2 separate regions of the Homo sapiens genome follow, and region 2 is linked to region 1. The links are contacts of gene promoters, found by promoter capture Hi-C in blood cells and fetal thymus (Javierre and others, 2016). All regions are on one chromosome and are shown on one strand. Each heading gives the region's core, a stretch centred on a gene start or on the middle of the fragment in contact. The rest is flanking DNA. Distances are from core to core; before and after follow the strand shown. Region 1 holds the start of CDK8 (cyclin dependent kinase 8). Region 2 holds the start of LOC107984597 (a long non-coding RNA gene).

What was found. The method cuts DNA at HindIII sites, captures the fragments that hold promoters and counts their contacts. A CHiCAGO score of 5 or more calls a contact.
Region 2: a fragment that was not itself captured here is called in contact with the fragment with the promoter of CDK8 in region 1 in 1 of 17 cell types (monocytes); the score reaches 6.6 in monocytes.

Annotation. Positions count from the first base shown.
Region 1 is chr13:26,249,941-26,257,816 of GRCh38, reverse strand. CDK8 (cyclin dependent kinase 8) reads right to left here and starts at 3,688. Exons shown (of 13, transcript NM_001260.3): 1 at 3,048-3,688. The coding sequence starts at 3,175. RefSeq lists a silencer at 3,084-3,683. The HindIII fragment of the contact is 11,884 bases long and covers 2,084-7,876 here.
Region 2 is chr13:26,697,679-26,705,554 of GRCh38, reverse strand. It overlaps LOC107984597 (a long non-coding RNA gene), which reads left to right and starts at 6,737. Exons shown (of 3, transcript XR_001749798.2): 1 at 6,737-7,319. The HindIII fragment of the contact is 576 bases long and covers 2,971-3,546 here.

The sequences.
Region 1 (7,876 bases), core at 2,439-4,938:
AATGCCTTTTGTTTTTCTTTTTTGAAGAAAAACCTCTTATCCCAAATTGATATTTTAAATTATCCAAACATTCAGTGCAAATATTGAAGTCTAGAATTTAAAAACACAAATTGTTTTCTGTCTTCTAACGCTCTCTTACTCTTTAAAACAAAATTAGTTTGGTTGCCTAAACTCTGCAAAGAGGAGATACAATCAACTCAGAAAGAAAATGAACCCCCCTGCTTCCCACTGAGTACTCTTTAAGTGTTCAGACACAAAGGACACTATCTCATTTACGGCGACACGAGTGAGAACAAATTAATCCCAAGATTTATTGTGCATTTCTTTAAACTCTATTATAATGTGAAATTAACAAAGTTATAAAAGGTCCCTTTTCCCTACTATGCAATCATGCCTCAAGTAAGTCAAAGAAATGAATCTTTGAAGCTATTTTATTTCCTAAAACTTAATAATTTAAGCAGCTAACTTCTCTGGTCTAAATTATTTTACCAATTATTCATGTTCTATGCTCACTGGGCAACTGAAAGGATACAACGTTTACATACATTCATTTCAATAGTCAAATATGTCTAAACCAAGCTTATTTGCGTTACTTCCTTTTATAGAAAATCTCAGGTTCTCCTTAAAGGTGTTACTGTCTGAGTTCCTAGAGAACAAATCTCAGCTGCAGAATATATAATGTAATTTGAAAGTAAATCAATACTAGAAACAAATTATTTGATCATCATCTTATTATGAAAGATTAAACAGCCACAAATTTTATTTTACCAGGACTAAAATGCATTAAATTACATTTCACTGACATAAGATCAAAAGAACCTCATAAATACTATGCGATACTTTACCAGAGTGAGGTTACAAAGAGAAGTCAAACCGAAAAAAATCCCTGTAATTTTAAAACTCTCTAAAACTATCTCTAAAAGATAGTAATTTTAAAACTCTCTTGACATTTGATCCATTAAAAATAGAAGTTCATCACATAAAGAGAATCATTAAAGACTGATGGAAAACAAACTCCAAGGATTACAAATAATAAGTTCTTTTTTCCAAAATGCAATGTTACTTTTCAGCTGTCACAGATGACTAAGAATGTCCATACATTATACCTTCAACTATCTTTAAATTCAAAGATATTGAAATTATTCTTTCAAATTATTCTTAACGGCCTAAATTAAAACCTGACCATAGAGATATAAAATGTGCTTAAGTACCCCCTGCCAATACACAGTATTAGTTTTCTAATAAAATGTACAACGTTAAAACAAATATGCATATTTTATTAGCTTAAATTGGTAATTTATGAAAACAGAACCGGCTTCTCTCACACAGATTAAAAATAATGCAAAGGCGCTAGAATTTTATATAACATGTCAGTTTGGTCAAATGTACTGTAATGTCTAATCTCATGGGATTGGGGATTTTATGAATATGCCCAAAATTACATAATACTGGGGGAAGGGGAGATGGTTTAAAGCTTTTGAGAAATATTGTATGGTGAGTTAACAAACATAATTTTAAAAATATATGTCATTACAGAGTAAAACTTCAACAATAAGTCTAATTAGACAACAACAGAGTCAGCAATATCTCCAGACGCTGATTTCTCCAGTGTCACCAGACTATCCATTCCGCTAAAAAGTACTTTTAAATACGTGCGGCGCCCAGAATATCAAGTTTTCAAATCCAAATCCCTACCTTCTGCCGATCTGTTCCACTTTACTGTTGCATAAAAGCACTAAAATACACATTCTAAATTAATTAGAACTCCTATCTTCCTCGTAGAGTCCATTGTAAATACTTTTAGAAAGACATTTCAGTAAATCTAAGAAAAATGTCCAATAAATATACACTTTCCTTTCCAACATCCAGAATACTAAAGTATTTGTAAATATGCGCCCCCCTACCCCACAGTAGGGAACTTCAGCTTTATGAATTTTTTTTTCGTGCTAATGTAGTCTGAACATACTCTCCTACCTAATTGGAAATTTTAAGTGATTAAACATCATACAGCAGGTGACTAAACTGGGATGCTCAAGTAAAGCTACTTCGTTTCTAATAAAATCCAAGGATTATATAATAAGCTTTGACTTTTCAATAATTTTCTATTCTGTCAAAGGCAACAGAGACAACATCCATTTTACAAGAAAACATGGAGTTAATAAAATATATTTTCCCCCCAACTAAGAATTGCCTTCTCTTTTGTCAATATTACAAGACATTCATCTACTGACAAAGAGAAAAAATGAACAATTCACTTGCCTGTTAAGAAACTAAATTGGAAGCATTACCAGTCATAGGTTTAATTAAGTTGTTACTAGGGAAGAATATTTAAAGCAAAGGGATTATTTAAAGTTCACTGCCAGCCGCTAAATTTGGGGGAAACCGCCTGAACGAGATAGTCCCTATGTCACTTGCCTTCTTCCCCACCACCCACCCTGCACCAAACCCCCATTGTTCTATGTAAAAATTCACAGCTAATAATATCTAAATAGCAATTGCAACATTTATGTTGCAGATGATCACTATGGGGAACTCTCTCCAGAACCACATTCACTCGCTGCCTTCCTTTCCTCAAATAAAATACAAATTTGATAAAAAATCGATCACAAACTGGTGGGGGAAAGGATCACAGCCTTCCTTCTAGACCGATGGATGACACTCCAGAGGCGGGTGAGGAAATCCCCAGAAGGTTACCATAATAAATCGACCAAGGAAAAAAAAAAACAAAAAACATTTAACCCGGCGTTTTAGAACGAATTTTTTCATGAATCAGCTTTGAAATCCTTGAAAAGTATACAGCCCACGGTGCAGAGGCTCATCTTGCCTCTTACCACCAGAGCAGAACACAGACGCGGCACGCAGGATTTCTCGTGGGTTTGGATCCCTCGTACACCACTTCCTCCCCAAACCTGGCTGGCGGAGCCAGAGGCCGGCGTCGAGGAAGTCAGAGCCCGGCACCCCGGCGGCCCGCTCTCCCTCCGGGCTACCTGCCTCGGCCTGCGGGAGCGCCGCCCAGCGCGGACACCGGCCCAGACACACACACTCACCCATCTTTCCTCTTGGCTTTGTAGACGTGACCATAAGTGCCTCGGCCAACTTTGCAGCCCTCGTATTCAAACAGGTCCTCGACCCGCTCCCGCTCGCTGCTCAGCTTCACTTTAAAGTCATAGTCCATTGTCACAGCCTCTGAGGCCGGAGAGCTGGGTCGGGGGGCCGGGGGGCAGGGGTGGGGACCGGGGAAGCACGGGCAGCCGCAGCCCCCGGGAACCCGCCCGCTCTACGCCCGCCGGCCGCAGCACCAGCCCGACTGATGCGGCAAGAGCAGGAGGAGGCCCCGCGAAAGCGCCAGGGACATCCAGGGGGACGGCGGGGCAGAGGCCGGCCGGGGGTGGAGGAACGGGGAGGATCCCCCGGCGAAGGAGAGCCGAGGGACGAGGGCTGGGGGTGGGGAGCGGTGTCTCTGCCCTTGTCCCCGCGGGCTCCCTGGGCGCCGGCTCCGCCGCTCTCTCCGGCCGCGCGTTCTGCTCCTGCTGCGGCGGGAGCGGCGGGGCGGCCAGGCGGGCTCTCGTCCTCTCACACGCGCACTCACGCCTCACGCTCTCACACACACGCTCACACTCACTCACTCACTCACTCTCCCATACACTCAAACAGAAGGGCAGAGCCGCACAACAGCCGGTACCTCCTCAAAGAGAGGAGGAGGGAGGGCACTCGCGGAACACGGCCGCGGCTGTCGCAAAAACGTCGCGAAGCCTCGGGCTGCCTCCGGGCCACACTCTAGCCCGCTCCCGCGGTGGCTGGCCGCCCCTGCTGGCGCTGGCACCCTGAGGACCGTGTGGAGGGAGCAGGGGAGCCACTGCCCAAAGCTGCCGCCAAATGCACCACGTGGAACCAGCCCCAGCGGTGGCCGGGCCCCAGACTACAATACCCAGAATGCACAGGCCGCCGCCGCTGCCGCCCCTTCTACGACTCCGCCCCACACGGTGGGAATATGGGAGCGTTGCATGATGGGACTCGTAGTCTAGGGTGAAATTCGTTTCAATCATTTGGGGAAAATTTATTTTTATTTTTACAGCGATCTAACTAGAGTCTGATTTCAGCCACAAACTTGATCAAAGAGGTGCACGTGGGAAGGAGAGTCGTTTGCATTAGAAACACATTTTGTGCCACTCTGAACTCCAGATTTTAAAGGCCACTATCATCGATAAAAGCCGGTATGATATTTGTAAACAGCTCGCGGGCCAGCAGTTGGGGTACTCTTGGTGTTCACAATCTGATAAGGGCTGCACAATGATGTCAACATACTGACATTACAAGCACCAATAAAAGTGAATCAATGACCAGTGTCCAAGCTACTCCTAAACATTGTTACTCTTGTGACAGATGACCATCCAAACCTTTCCTATCCATATACAGGAAGTATTGAGTACAGTACAGCCTTCTGCGATACTACCTATAAGAACACCAGTTTCTAGCTATGATTACAGAAAGGATCTAAATCCATGGGAACTAGTTTGTTAATAATCTTAAGGTAGCAATATGTCCTGCTTCAGGAGTCCTGGTATCTTGATACTAATCTATCATTTTATCTTACCCCCCTTGTCTATTTTTAATTTTTGGTTTTCCAATTGTTACCATTTCCACTAAAGCTCCCCACTTCCCAAAGGGAATATGAACTTTGCAGTTTTAATGTGAACTTTTTAACACTTTTTTTCCCACCTTTCCTGTGATATTTATCAAATTCCTTTCATCTTTTATTTCCTCTACCTTGCTAGATCCTAAGTTGTTATAGGAAGTCATATTTGCATCTTCTGTAAAACCTAGTGTCATGCCTTGATAATGATGCACAGTAAACACTTGTTAAATTAATGAATGAATAAACATGTTTATCTCAAAAAGATCCATATACCAATGATGATGATGATGATATCATCTTGTGAAAAAGCCTCCAAAGGGCTTTCTCTTATATAATTTTCCTTGGAGAAAATTAGTGACTTCACCACTGTGTAAAATTAAATTGTTTTTACCTAGCATACTATATAAGTATTGAGTATTTTACTATACTGGGTTTGAATCCTGCATTGTCATTTACTAATGTGTTCTTGGAGCCTAGAATTTTTTCTTTGCAAAGTGCAAAGCACAAAACAAATGTAGGCTTTCATTAATGGCATATTATTTGTTTCCATTCAGTGATGAAAATTGGGTAACTCTCTAGCAGAACTGCTCATTTGCATCCTTAAAGAATTACATCATTTTCTGAATATGGATTTAAAAGATTCTTCCTTAGACAATGTATTTTGTATTTTTTGAGGGATGTGTCTTTTGTGCACATATTTACTCATGGATCTTGAGAAATCAAACTACCACACTGGAGGAAAAGTTGTGAAGAGGCATGGGACTCAGCTTGCCCCTACACTGTATCGGGTCCCCCTTCCCCACCTCCTGTACCAATTATACACACTATTCTGGAACACTGAAGGTCTCAGACCTTTTTTGTTTGTCTTTTTGTGTTTTTATTTTGAGACAGGGTCTGGCTATGTCACCCAGGCTGGAGTGCAGTGATGCGATCACAGCTTACTACAACCTTGAACTCCTGGGCTCAAACAATTCTCCTCCCCAGCCTCCTGAGTAGCTGGGACTACAGGCATGTGCCACTACACCCAGCTAAGTTTTTTTTTTTTTTTTTTTTTTGAGAGACGGAGTCTCGCTCTGTTGCCCAGGCTGGTCTTTAACTCCTGGGTTCAAGTGATCCTCCTGTCTCAACCTCCCAAAGTGCTGGGATTACAGGCATGAGCCACATACCTGGCCTCAGACTTTTAAAAATGTACTTTTATACACTGTTTTGGCTGGCTTCACTCTGGGTGAAGGTGAACTCTCCCTGAAGGAATTGAGTGTCCTCACTGTCAACTGAGTATCCTGAATGTCAGTCCTGACTGTCAGTCTTTTCCTGGGGGCAGGAAAAGAAGCTAACCTTGGACTAGGGAAGAGCAAGATCTGCTTTTCTCTTTGAAGCCAGGGTGAGAGTTAGAGGCCTAGACACTAGGTTGGAGGAATATGGTGGTAGGAGGTAAGCTGACCCTGTAAAATGGTATCAGGATGGGGAGCTGAGAAAGAGATAGCCACTAAGGGCCCCTTATAGGAGAGCATGGCTAATGCTAGGAACAGCAGCATCTAATATTTAGTTTTAAGTGTCTCCTTTTGTGTGTTCTTAAGGTTCTTAAGGGCTAAGATGCTTCCTCATACCATCTCTGACCTTTACAGTCCTACCCATCCCCCAAGTGCTTAATTTGGTCATGAAGTCTTTCCCAGTTCTTGCAACTAGATATGACCTTTCTTTATCATGAACCTCTACCCCAGCCCTGGCACCATTGCACTTTATTTGTAACTCATTATAGCTACCTTGTATTTTAATCATTTATTTTATGCGATTAAAAAAATCTGCCCCTTAATAAATTTAGTGACTGAGTTCCTGCCTTAATCATCTATATATCCCCTACAGTTCCAAGCACATATTGTTTGCGTAATTATATTTCATTAGAATGTGTTTCATTGGATTGATTTCAATAAATGTTGAAATGGACATTAATAATAATAAAGGTCTCCACCTGTCAGAGGACAGTCATTGTAAAACATTTAGTATCTTGCCTCAGTCTTGCCTCTAAAAAGGGCTTTTTATAGCTGCAAAAGGACTGAGTGCTTCATGATATATTAATGTAAAAGCCCAAGTGGCTCTTCTCATAGTTAATCACTGCAGTCTCTACAACTTTGACTTCCACTTTCTCACTCAGTATTAAGGCATGCTTTCAGTGGAAAGCATGTAACCTCTCATTCTACAGGTGGCACGTTCATCCCGCACATATTAACCATCTACATGTGAGCACAGTGTTCGACACAAGGAAGAACAAGTTAGATTAATCAATCCAAGAGCTTTTTTTTAATATTTCATTTTTTTCACTCTGTCTTTCTGGCCTGATTTTTAAAAAATTTTCAAAGAAACTATAGATGCAAAAAGTATCCTTACTAACTCTGCAAGCATCCAGAATATAATTTAGACCTTAGAAATAACCAGAATATAAAAAATACTTTCAAAAATATCTTACTCTTCTCCCCTTCACCATGTGGGTATCATTTGCCTTTGTGGACTCATTTCCTCCACACAACGGGAAACATGACCACCAATAGTTGCTGAATTTTACGTCAGACAATGGCTTTCATTAGCGAAGAATTGACTGTTTCTCAATTCTGGTTCTAAAAATCCCAAGAAGGGCTCTGGTATGGCTGAGTCAGGCCCGTCCTAGGCCAACTAAGTGTAGCCACAGGGACAGGACCATGCAAGAATATGAGAGCTCCTTTATTAGGGGGCATGAGGGAGATGGGGGTAGGGAGCTCACAGGAGGAAGAATGCCCTAAGTATTATAAAGGAAATAAAACAGGACAATGTGATAGAAAGTGAGACCAGGAGGAAATTCCTTTAGATTGGTAGACGGTCAAGGTTTCTCTAAGGAGACAATGCTTAAGCAGAGACCTGAAGGTTGAGAAACAAAATCTGCTGTGGATGAGGGAGCAGAGTAGTCCAGGCAGATTAAACAGACAGCAAGTGCAAAAGGCAAAGCTGGGAATGAAGGAACAGAAAGATGACAAGAATATAATGAGTAAGAGGTGAAATTGTGTGAGGTGAAGACAGAGAGGTAGACAGGGACCAGATTATATATGGCCTTTTTGACCATAGCAAGGCGTTTGGGTTTTATTTGCAGGCAACCTTTCAGAAGGTTATAAGGAGGGGAGTGACCAGATGTGATTTATGCTTTAAAAAGAATATCCTGGTGCTATGTGAAGAATTAATTGTAGGAGGCAAGATGGATGGATGGATGGATGG
Region 2 (7,876 bases), core at 2,009-4,508, 450 kb before region 1:
GTCCCAGAGGCATGTGAGCACGGGGCTGTGTCCTGGTGGTGAGCATCCCTGCATCCCCCTGCATGACCTGGCCGGTGTGCTTCTGATTGATCTATGTGTGTGCCACACTGGCTGTTAAAAATCTTTTTTTTTTTTTTTGAGACAGAGTCTCATTCTGTCACCCAGGCTGGAGTACAGTGGTACAAATTCAGCTCATTGCAACCTCTGCCTCTCAGGTTCAACTGATTATCCTGCCTCTGCCTCCAGAGTAGCTGAGATTATAAGCACTTGCCACCATACTTGGCTAATTTTTGTATTTTTTTAGAGACAGGGTTTCACCACATTGGCCAGGCTGGTCTCGAACTCCTGATCTCAAGTGATCCACCCGCCTTGGCCTCCTAAAGTGCTGGGATTACAGGTGTGAACCACTGCGCCCAGCCTAAAAATCATTTTTTATTACCTCTGGGAAAAATTATTGGTTAACTTTAGACTTTGATACATTGTTTCCGTATTACAATTCTTAGAGTAGTGATTTTTAAAAATATAAAAAATAACTTAAAGGAAAAATTAGAATGATTAAAAAAATCAATCCAAATGAAGGCAAGAAGGGAAAAGAATGAAAGAACAGACAAAGAAAAAGTACAACTTAACCTGCTAGCTCTAAACAACAGATATAAGAAGTCATATTAAACTTAAGTTTTTCCAACTAAAATACAAAAGCTGTCAGAATGGAAAGAACAAAAGTATTTGTTGTTAACAAGAGACATATCTAAAACATAAGGATGCGGAATGTTGAAAGTGAAAGGAGAGGAAAAGATAAACCAAGAAAATGTGAATTTTTAAAAGTCGGTGGAGCATTATTAATAGCAGACAAAATAGATTTAAGACAAAGAAAATTACTAGAATGTAGTTCATGTCATAAAGTCAGGAGTTCACTCCAGAAAGATACACACATTTGGTTAAAAGAACAGAGTCCAGAGTCAGCCTGCCTATCTCAGCCCGGCTCTGCTCCTTTCTGTGTGTGTGATCTTCAGCACATTACTTAATCTCTGCTATTTTCACTGTCCTCCCATGAAAATGGGGATAATACTCATACCTCCCTTTTTTTGTTTTTTTTTTTGTTTGTTTGTTTGTTTGTTTGTTTTGAGACGGAGTCTCGCTCTGTCACCCAGGCTGGAGTGCAGTGGCCCAATCTCGGCTCACTGCAAGCTCCACCTCCCAGGTTCACGCCATTCTCCTGCCTCAGCCTCCAGAGTAGCTGGGACTACAGGCGCCCGCCACCACGCCAGGCTAATTTTTTGTATTTTTAGTAGAGACGGGGTTTCACCGTGTTAGCCAGGATGGTCTCATTCTCCTGACCTCGTGATCCGCCCACCTCGGCCTCCCAAAGTGCTGGGATTACAGGCGTGAGCCACCGCGCCGGGCCAATACTCATACCTCCCTCTAAGGGTAGTTGTGAGGATATAACGGAGCTAGTATGTAACGAAGGCAGTTAGAACAATGCCTGGCGTGCGTGTTCATAGCAGGCACTACATAAATAGGACACGAAATTACAAACCCTAATGACAGGTATAAAAGTATGTGAAGGAAAGGCTGATAGAACTTCAAAAATAAAGAGATACTAGTCTGAATTCTTTTTCAGACAGAGTCTCGGTCTGTCACCCAGGCTGGAGTAAAGTGGCATGATCTTGGCTCACTGCAACCTCCACCTCCTGGGTTCAAGTGATTCTTCTGCCTCAGCCTCCCAAGTAGCTGGGATTACAGGCATGTACCATCACGCCCAGCTAATGTTTGTATTTTTAGTAGAGACGGGGTTTTGCCATCATGGCCAGGCTGGTCTCCAACTCCTGACCTCAAGTGATCCACCCGCCTCTGTCTCCCAAAGTGCTGGGATTATCGGCGTGAGCCACACACCTGGCCTGGACTTTTTTTTTTTTTTAACAGACATCCTCTCAGTGATTTAAAAAAATTCAGTAAGAATATAGAAGACTTGACAATACAAAAAAACTTAAATCAATGGACAGATATAAAACACTGCATCCAATAACCTCAAATACACTATTTTCTAAAACTGGCTATGTCCTGGATCATAAAGTAAATCTCATCAAATTTCATAGACAGCATGTATGCTATCATGCAAAGTGTCTTCTAAAACTACAGTGCAATAAAGTGAGAACTAAAATCCAAAAACCTAAGCAGAAAATCCTCATCTGTTTGCAAATTAAGAAACCTGCTTCTGAATCACTCACACATGCAAATTAGAAAATATCTTGAACTGAATGTTAATTAAAAGACTCCATATCCCAACTTACGGAATTTAATTAAGCAGAATGTAGTAAAACTATAGCCATAAAATGTGTATGATGGAAAAGAAGATTGAAAAATAATGAACTAAGAGTCCATCTCATGAAGTTAGAATAAGAATAGTAAAATAAACCTGAAGAAGTGAGAAAGAAAGAAATCACAAAATTCTGAGCACAAACAAATAAAATTGAAAACAAACATAATAAAGAGGACCAACACTAAAGGTTACTTTCTTTAAAAACAAAAACAAACAAACAACGAACTAATAAATTTGGCATAGCACCAGTGAGCTGGACTCAGAGGCAAAAGACAGCACAAACTGCTTTCAACAGAGCATCACGATAGTGGTTGCTGGCATTAAAAAGATAACAAGAGAATATAACAGATAACTTTTTCCTGAAATTTAGAAGAAATAGTCTAATTTTTAGGTAAAGGTAACTCATCAGAAATGACTCAAGAAGAAATAAAAAGCGACAATTGCCCTAAAATACAAAATACTAAAATACAACAAAAAAAACTGAATCAGCATCAAAAACCAAAAGAAAAGCCCAGCTTCAGATGGCCTCACTCTTGAGTTCAGCCAAACCTTAAATTAAAGACCAAAAGTGCCAATCTTATAAAAGCTTTTCTACAGAATAGAAAACAGCAAAAATGCTTGTTTGCTTATTCTATAAAGCTGACAAAGCTTTGTTCCCGAAATAAAAATAGTTTTAAAAAGGAAAATTGTAGACTAATCTCACTCATGAAAATAAATATAAAACTTCTAAACAAAATAGTAACAAAATAATGTAATCTGTAGTTAACGGGTTAAGGGAGAAAAGTCACATGAACATCTGAATAAATATAGAAAGTCATTTGTAAAATTCAACAACTACTTGTGATTTTTTAAACAAAATTTTAAACTAGAAATGGAAAGAAACTATTAATCTGATGAAGCTATTTTAAATAAAGATTAGAAAAGAAAGCTATTCATTACATAGATGTATGTATATATGTACGAACATGTGTATGTATGTGAAACCTATTTAAAATGAAAGGATACGGAAAGTTTCTTTTAAGTTATTAAACATATCCCAGGCAAATATAAATGAAAAGAAAGCTGTATATCAATTTTGGTATCAAAACTGTTTTAAGGCCAAAATTTTAAAAATCAGAAAGAAAAGGAAAGAGTATTAAAAATAAAAATATAAATTAGATATTTTAAAATATTCCTTTGAAGCTAACAGATCAAGCAGGCAAGTAATAACCAAAGGCATAGAAGCTTCGATTAATATTTTGAATAATCTTGGTTAATTAGAGATTAAAGAAAATGAGCATTGCCTCTAAGTGCACACAGAACAGTCATGAACACGAGCGATACATAAGCCCATGAAGGAGGGCCCAATGCATACCAAAGAATCAGCAACATTCAGCCCATCTTCTCTAGCCTTATATAAAATTTAAAAAATCGGTATCAAAAGTGGGAGGCTTAGGCAGGAGAATTGCTTGAACCTGGAAGGCAGAGGTTGTTGTGAGCCAAGATCGCGCCACTGCACCCCAGCCTGGTCAACAGAACGAGACTGTCTCAAAAGAAAAGAAAAAAAATCAATATCAAAAGGATCAATGTATATAATCCCATATAGATGAAAATCAAAAACAACACATACATCATCTTTGTAATAAAGAAGAAAAATAAGGAAAATTATTAAATATTTCACATTGAATGACAAGAAAATGACCACATGTCAACATTTGTAGGACTAAGAAAGTTATATTTAGAGGTAAAACTATAATTTTAAATGCATTCATTCAAAAACAACAAATGAGGTAAGCTCTGAGTCAACAGGCTTCACAAAGAAGAAGAGTAACCCCAAGCAAGCAAACACCCGAGATAAGGGCTGACACGAATGAAAGAAAGAATAATACAAAAAGAGAGAAGATGAATCAAACCAAATATTCATTTCTTTGAAAAAAGTTGGAATATAGAAAAGCCAGTAGTAAAACTAATCAAGAAAAAGAGAGAAGCAATTCAAATTTAAAAATATATATAAAAATAAAAATAAAATAAAAAGAGAAGGGGAAATGGACACATTCTCTTAAAAACTTGAAACGCTGGCCGGGCGCAGTGGCTCACGCCTGTAATCCCAGCACTTTGGGAGGCCCAGGCAGGTGGATCACCTGAGGTCAGGAGTTCGAGACCTTGCTGACATGGTGAAAACCCCGTCTCTACTAAAAACACAAAAAATTAGCTGGGCATGGTGGCAGGCACCTGTAATTCCAGCTACTCAGGAGGCTGAGGCAGGAGAATCGCTTGAACCCGGGAGGCGGCGGTTGCAGTCAGCTGAGATCACACCACCGCACTTCAGCCTGGGCAACAGGAGTGAAACTCTGTCTCAAAAAAAAACTTGAAATGATTAATTGACATAAGAATTAGAAAATCTGAATAGCTCAACAGCCAATTACCAAAATCTGAATAACCCTTTGAGGTAAGCACTATTACTCCCCCACTGCAGAGATGAGAAAACTAGAGAATTGGTCATTTGAGTACCTTGGCCAAGGTCACAGAACAGAGCCAGGATTTGAACCCAAGCAGTCTGATTCTGTGACTTCTCTCTACCCCATGGTGGTGGATTCTATGTGTCAACTTGACTGGGCCACTGGGTGCCCAGATTAAACAGTGTTTCTGGGTGTTTGCAGATGAGACAAGCATTTGAATCTGTGGGCTCAGTAGAGCAGACTTCTCTTCCTAATGTACGGGGGCCTCAGCCAATCCCTTGAGGGCCTGAGTAGAACAAAAGGAGAAAGAATCCGCCCCTTTTGCTTCCTGCCTGCCTGCGTGGGCAGATCTCATCTCATCTTCTCCTGCCCTTCAACTGGGATTTACACCTCGAGGCCCCTTGGTTCCCAGGCCTTTGGACACAGACTGGAATTGCACTACCCACTCTCCTGAGTCTCCAGCTTGCAGATGGCAGGTCATGGAACTTCTCAGCCTCCATAATAGTGTAAGTCAATTCCTCATAATAAGTCTCTTCATGTATATGTTAACTTGACTAAGCCACTGGCTGTTCAGATTAAACACTACACATTTTTTTAAATAAATACATATATACACATCTCCTACTGATTCTGTTTCTCTGTCAAACCCTGAATAATACAACCCCCCATTGCTTTACTGTTTTGCCTTGATAGTAGAGCAATAAGGCAAATTGTATGACAGTGAGCAGCAGCTGTGTCTTTCATCTCAACATCACTCTGCCTAGCATATCAAAGAGGATTTTTACATTTAAAAATAATTAGGACTTTTTTTAGATAGGTAAACGCTCACATGATGAAAAGTACTAAAAAGGTCTGCAGTAGAGATCTCCCTACCACTTTGCCCCAAGATACTCAGGGGCTCTGCCCCGAGGTAATGCTATCACTGTCCTGTGGATCATTTTAGAAATATTGTATGCACGTGTAAATGAAGATATATATTGTTTTTTCCTTTTTTAATCTAATAGATAGCGTATTATATACACATTTTCCTGCTCCTTGCTTTTTTTTTACTTTAACAATCTATCTTGAAGATCATTTTAACTCAATGAAAATGGCCTCATTCTTTTTACAGCTGCAGTGTATTCCAATGTGCATAGACTATAATTTAATCAATATTCTGCTGCAAGAACAGTAAGATGTTTTCTAATCTGTTGTTATTTCAAACAGTGCTGAATTGAATATATCTTTTTGTTCATGTGCAAATAAATCTGAAATGTATATCTGTTACAGTTATGAAAGCTGTATAATGAATTACCCTAAGTCTAAGTAATCTAAAATGGAGACCATATTTATTTTTGCTCAGAAATCTGTAATTTTGGCAAGCTGAGCTCAGTAAGGTTGGGCCCTGTCTGTCTCCCTGCAGTGGCTAAGACCCCAGCTGGGAGCAGACCCTCACCTGTGGCCTCTCTATGTGGCCTGGGCTTCCTCACAACATGGCGGCTGAGTTCCAGAGGTAGCATTCTGAGCAAGAGAGCCAAGCAGAAGCCTCGTTACCTTTTAGGGTGTAGCCTTGGAAATCAGGCACTTCCAAAATCCCACCAGGTTCAAGGAGAAGGAAACAGGGCACACCTCTTGATAGGGAGTGGCAAGATTCTGGAAGAGAATATAGGTCTAGAAATACTGTCATCAGCATTTTTGGAAAATCCAGCCTGCCTCAGATATGTTTCTAGAAACGAAATTGGTCGGTCAAGGGTATGTACAGTTTTAATTTTGATACAGGGTTGCTAAATTGCCCTCCAAAGAACTCGTACCAGTTCACTCTCAACAGCAGTGCATGAAAAACACATATTTGTTTAATGAAAGAATGAAGGATTGAGCAAGTGAATAGGGAGCCGAACTTGTGAGCCTGGTCTTCAGAGAACGCACTTCATCATCTGGCCACCAGAGGGCGGTGTTTCCCCACAGACCCGCAGAAGGGCGCCCTCGGAAAGGAAGAGCTACTGGCTCTGCAGCGATATTAACTAGCTTCCAGGAGGCGGAGGCCAGCGCCTCCCTGCATCCCCGTCTCGGCATTAAACCAAACGTGGACGCCCTTGATAGACTTTTAAAGGGAAAGCAGGAATCGTCCTTTACACTTCACCTGCTTTTTACAGCGCAGGGGCCTCTGACATTTGTGTAAAATCCACCCGCCAGGAACCGCAGGCTCAGAGCTCAGAAGCGCCCTGTCCTCTTCAGGAGCCCGGGGGCTGACGCCACTCCTTCGAGGGGGCCAAGGCTGAAAAATCAGCTGGCAAAAGGCAGATTAATTGGAGAAAAGGCATACACGTTTATGTAACGTATGTACACAGGAGCCTTCAGCATAAAGAACGAACGTACAGGGGAACTTGTCCACTTTTATGCTTCTGTCCAACAAAGTATGGACGGCCGGGTAGAATATGATCAGACAAGAAGGGTGTGATCTAACGCTGAGACCGAGTGAGGACACCCAGCAAGGCCTGTCCGGCTAGATTCTGCCTGGCCTCTCTGAGCACACATTCCTTCCTTCTGGAATGAGGGGGTCTTATGACCAGCAGTCAAACAAGGTAGGTCAGATCATTTCTTTATGACCAGTTTTTACACAGAGAGTCTGAGAAAGAAAAAGAGTAACAGGTTTTATGGCTGGCTTTGGAGAGAAGAGGGTGTGGTTTCTATGACCCATCTTGGGGAAGAGGGATTCTGGTTTCTATGGGTAGCCTTGGGGGAAAATGGGACTAAGAGACAGGAGGGCGGGAGGAGGTCAGGGAAAACCTTTTGCTTCTGAGGCTGCTTCCAAGACTTTCATTTTGGGGTACAATTTTCTGAGCCCCAACACTTTCAAAGACAGATTTCCAAATGGTTTTAGTTTTAAATGTTCAAATACCTAGGCCTGCACTCCAGCCCTGGGAGAAGCAGGAACACAGGTAGAGGCCAGGGACACGGTGACGCTGCGTCCCCCGCATCTCCTCCAGAGTGGTCACAGAGGACACCGCCACCCCACTCCACCTTCATGCAGCTCACTCCTGAGGAGGGCTCTGAGCCACAACCCTGAGCCTCGCCTGCCTCCTTCCTGCTCAGGGAGCCCTTGGGGCTGGGGTGTGGCATCCCAGGGTTTGGGGGGTGT